2 separate regions of the Homo sapiens genome follow, and region 2 is linked to region 1. The links are contacts of gene promoters, found by promoter capture Hi-C in human tissues and cell types (Jung and others, 2019). All regions are on one chromosome and are shown on one strand. The core of a region is centred on a gene start or on the middle of the fragment in contact, and the rest is flanking DNA. Distances in the headings are between cores, read along the strand shown.

What was found. The method cuts DNA at HindIII sites, captures the fragments that hold promoters and counts their contacts. A contact is called where the count stands out against the background at its distance.
Region 2: a contact is called between the fragment with the promoter of OR11H6 here and the fragment with the promoter of OR4K15 in region 1, in 4 of the 25 tissues and cell types used here (H1 embryonic stem cells, adrenal gland, aorta and 1 more).

The regions. Positions count from the first base shown.
Region 1 is chr14:19,974,305-19,976,908 of GRCh38, forward strand. It overlaps OR4K15 (olfactory receptor family 4 subfamily K member 15), which reads left to right and starts at 1,287. Exons shown (of 1, transcript NM_001005486.2): 1 at 1,287-2,261. The coding sequence starts at 1,287. The coding sequence ends at 2,261. The HindIII fragment of the contact is 7,551 bases long and covers 1-2,604 here.
Region 2 is chr14:20,222,412-20,225,015 of GRCh38, forward strand. It overlaps OR11H6 (olfactory receptor family 11 subfamily H member 6), which reads left to right and starts at 1,299. Exons shown (of 1, transcript NM_001004480.1): 1 at 1,299-2,291. The coding sequence starts at 1,299. The coding sequence ends at 2,291. The HindIII fragment of the contact is 13,960 bases long and covers 1-2,451 here.

The DNA.
Region 1 (2,604 bases), core at 37-2,536:
ATGTAATGCTCCTTTAAAATTCACATTTTATTTTTTCCTATTTTCCATAAAACTTTTATAAGTTCTAAATAGCTTCTACAAATAAAAATAACAAAAGGAAGAAAGCTCTGATAACATAGAATATAGAGTAACTGAATAGAAAAGAAAAATCATTTTTTTCCTGGTCTGAATTCCTTAGTAATAAGTAATATAACTTATTAGTTATATTAGTATTTATAGTAAGCAATATAACTTATAAGTTTTTAAGCCACATCACATCAAATGAAATATCAATCATAGCTCAATAAAATGTCTATGGTTAGTAACACCAATGGCTAAGTTTAAAGAAGCTTCATACCTTCAGGGATTAATTGAAAGGAACCAGTGTGCTAGATTTCATGATAAAGTAGAACTCCATGAAGAGCTGAATCATAAAAGAGTTCCAATAATATTGGGGCCTTTCAATTTTGCCAGGGTTCTGTACTTTAGTTTATATAATTTTTAACTGTAGAGAAGAAATAAGGTATAATCACTTAAGGCAATGATTTCTCCTGTGAGCTCTCTTATGCAAATCTAATGCTGTCTCTCTTTCTCTCTTGTTTTAATTTTCATAATTATGCAACTTATGTATACAAAAGTGAAAAAAGCAAAAGTTCATATTTCAGTAAGTTTTCATAAAGTAAATACTCCCATGTAACTATCAACCACATCAAGAAAGAATATTACCAGCACTTCAGAAGCCCCTCCCATGACCACTTCCTGTCCCTTAAGGATAACTGCTAGGAGGTTTTTCTACACCTTAGTTTGCCATTTTTGAACTTCATTTAAATAGACCAATACAGTGTATACTCTTCCGTATCTAACTTTTTAAGTCATCAAGTTTGTGAAATTATCTTCCTCTGTGGCAGATGTTCAAAAAATTTTTATATCATTTACTTTAGAAAAAATTGGTTTAGATTTTGTCTCCGTAGATTTTTAGACTGATTTCTGTAGTGTCACAAAAACTTCAGATGCTCAAATTCATTTTTAGATTGTTGATTTTATTTCTTAAATTAATGTATTTAGATATCCCAGTTGGTTGAACATCTCCTTGACAACCCTCCCCTTTAACGCAATCTTCCATACTTAGCTGTACTAGCTGTATAACTTGTAATAACTCATGAAAACCCAGACACATACATAGCAATAGGAATTGGAATTCTGAAAAGTTTAAGTGTAATTGGAAAATCAAACCCATGCTCACTTCATTAACTGATCTCTGTTTCTCTCCTATTCAGGTAGCTGAAATTAAGTCCCTTCCAAAATCGATGAATGAGACAAATCATTCTCGGGTGACAGAATTTGTGTTGCTGGGACTGTCTAGTTCAAGGGAGCTCCAACCTTTCTTGTTTCTTACATTTTCACTACTTTATCTAGCAATTCTGTTGGGCAACTTTCTCATCATCCTCACTGTGACCTCAGATTCCCGCCTTCACACCCCCATGTACTTTCTGCTTGCAAACCTGTCATTTATAGACGTATGTGTTGCCTCTTTTGCTACCCCTAAAATGATTGCAGACTTTCTGGTTGAGCGCAAGACTATTTCTTTTGATGCCTGCCTGGCCCAGATTTTCTTTGTTCATCTCTTCACTGGCAGTGAAATGGTGCTCCTAGTTTCCATGGCCTATGACCGTTATGTTGCTATATGCAAACCTCTCCACTACATGACAGTCATGAGCCGTCGTGTATGTGTTGTGCTCGTCCTCATTTCATGGTTTGTGGGCTTCATCCATACTACCAGCCAGTTGGCATTCACTGTTAATCTGCCATTTTGTGGTCCTAATAAGGTAGACAGTTTTTTCTGTGACCTTCCTCTAGTGACCAAGTTAGCCTGCATAGACACTTATGTTGTCAGCTTACTAATAGTTGCAGATAGTGGCTTTCTTTCTCTGAGTTCCTTTCTCCTCTTGGTTGTCTCCTACACTGTAATACTTGTTACAGTTAGGAATCGCTCCTCTGCAAGCATGGCGAAGGCCCGCTCCACATTGACTGCTCACATCACTGTGGTCACTTTATTCTTTGGACCATGCATTTTCATCTATGTGTGGCCCTTCAGCAGTTACTCAGTTGACAAAGTCCTTGCTGTATTCTACACCATCTTCACGCTTATTTTAAACCCTGTAATCTACACGCTAAGAAACAAAGAAGTGAAGGCAGCTATGTCAAAACTGAAGAGTCGGTATCTGAAGCCTAGTCAGGTTTCTGTAGTCATAAGAAATGTTCTTTTCCTAGAAACAAAGTAAACTTATGAGACTGTTACCACTTTAGCCCTGTCTCCATACACTTACAAGTGGATTCACTGTAATCTTAAAGCAAATCAACTTGGCCTGTGGGAAAGCTCAGTTGATCGATTTGAAGCAAACTGTAATGATAATAAAAACTCATGAAATAAACTTTAGTGATTTTAAATATTCTTTCTCCATTGTATATTTTTTAATATCCTACTTTGTATTCTTTATTTTAAAATTTCTTAAGATACAGACTTTGATGACATTGAGAAAATGACATTACCTTATAAATGGTTAATATACTGTTGTCTCTCCCTTTGAAAACAGTACTACTCACACCAACTTTGGAGTAATGATA
Region 2 (2,604 bases), core at 49-2,548, 250 kb after region 1:
ATAAATTATCCTAATTTTAAAGTCATTATATTGCTAAATTTAAAATATTGATAGTGGCTTACCCAGCCAAATATTCTGAACTTTAACAAGGATATTTGAGGACACAGAAATAAGCCTGCTGGACCAATAGTTTCTAGAAAATTGTTAGCAAAATATCTAAGTTATTTATCTTGTCTCAACTCCTGATTTAGAAAATATCAGAAAGATCTTTCTGTTCTCTGCACATCCTGAGGTGACTCTTTTATTCATTATTTAATTTATGGAAAAGCAAGATAATGAAGGGACAAATTATAAAGTTTAGGACTTAATTTCTAGCAAAAATAAAGGCACATGGCTTTATTACTAGAGAAATTGATTTACCCAACAGCAAGCTCCCTCAAGAGCTAAGTCATGATGTAGAATAGTACAATTTGTTGGAGAAGGAGGCTGACAAGCAGGGAAAATGGTGGCCTGCCAAAGAAGTCATAGGTAAGGGACATAACAGCTGCCTTCAGTTATTTAAGACCTCACTACCACCATCATGGGAGAGGAATTAGACTTATTTTGTGTAGTTTCAACAAAGTCAAAGTTTACCTGCTGACTTGGGGAGTACCAAGATCAATGGGTAAAAGTAATAAAGGATACAAAGTTTGCTCACCATAAAGAAGGGCTTTGAGAGAACTAGAGCTCCTCACGAGAAAAAGGGGCTGGATTATTCAGCAAATCCAGATGCCACCAGGGAGAATGTGATCTGGGGGGAACTAGATTTGTAGCTTTCAGACCATTTTACAGATTCCTAAGGGTTCTGCAGCACCTCCCTGAGAGTAGCAAAAGGAAGGGAGCTGAAGACTCCCCAAAGTTTAATTCCTATCTGCTTTTTATTGGACTTCTACATATGAGGCTCTAAGAAGGCAATTTTAATATAGCAACTATTCTTGCTTCAGATTTATACTCAATTTTGCTTTAAAGTAAAAGAATATATCCAAAGTTTATATTTATATGTAGAGTATCTAAGGGGCAGTGATTTTACCATTAAAGATGAAACATTACTGAGACTCAGGGTTATAGAAAATTTGAAGTGAAACATGATTTGTTCCAAACCAATCTCCAAATAGGCCAGTGTATCTGGGCGTTACTGGCTTTGTACATATGTTTAAGTGAACCCTTCTAATCTCTTTGAACTTCAATTACCCTGTCTGTGAAAGAGAAGGGTAAAGAATACCTCCTCGCAGCTCAAAGAGTCATTAGGAAGACCAAATGAGATAATGTATGTAAAAATACTTAGTACATCATCCAGCATGAGTTAGCAAAATCTCCAAATGTTCTTTATTATTCATTCTTTGGTTACTTCTGTTTTTCTAACAGCTTTGGGACCCCAGAACAGAACAATGCATTTTGTGACTGAGTTTGTCCTCCTGGGTTTCCATGGTCAAAGGGAGATGCAGAGCTGCTTCTTCTCATTCATCCTGGTTCTCTATCTCCTGACACTGCTAGGGAATGGAGCTATTGTCTGTGCAGTGAAATTGGACAGGCGGCTCCACACACCCATGTACATCCTTCTGGGAAACTTTGCCTTTCTAGAGATCTGGTACATTTCCTCCACTGTCCCAAACATGCTAGTCAATATCCTCTCTGAGATTAAAACCATCTCCTTCTCTGGTTGCTTCCTGCAATTCTATTTCTTTTTTTCACTGGGTACAACAGAGTGTTTCTTTTTATCAGTTATGGCTTATGATCGGTACCTGGCCATCTGTCGTCCATTACACTACCCCTCCATCATGACTGGGAAGTTCTGTATAATTCTGGTCTGTGTATGCTGGGTAGGCGGATTTCTCTGCTATCCAGTCCCTATTGTTCTTATCTCCCAACTTCCCTTCTGTGGGCCCAACATCATTGACCACTTGGTGTGTGACCCAGGCCCATTGTTTGCACTGGCCTGCATCTCTGCTCCTTCCACTGAGCTTATCTGTTACACCTTCAACTCGATGATTATCTTTGGGCCCTTCCTCTCCATCTTGGGATCTTACACTCTGGTCATCAGAGCTGTGCTTTGTATTCCCTCTGGTGCTGGTCGAACTAAAGCTTTCTCCACATGTGGGTCCCACCTAATGGTGGTGTCTCTATTCTATGGAACCCTTATGGTGATGTATGTGAGCCCAACATCAGGGAACCCAGCAGGAATGCAGAAGATCATCACTCTGGTATACACAGCAATGACTCCATTCTTAAATCCCCTTATCTATAGTCTTCGAAACAAAGACATGAAAGATGCTCTAAAGAGAGTCCTGGGGTTAACAGTTAGCCAAAACTGAGATATCTTTGAAAAAGAAGCCAAATTGGCCACTTCTGACCTTAATTTTTTATAACTATAGAGAGTAGCTTCAGTAGTATGTTCTGGCTCACACTCAGGTAGACAGACTTATCTTTCACAGTTCCTTAGCAGTTAAATTCAGCTCATTAATGATAAATGCCAATGCTCAATAAAACATTTTAAACATATGTGGCCTCACTGAGTAGTTATGTGGTGGGTGGGTGTATATATACGTATATTATTTTTCTGTGATGTATCTTTGCTAGTTTTAATCTTAGCTGACAGAAGAAATCAATTGCATGTGTACTGAAACC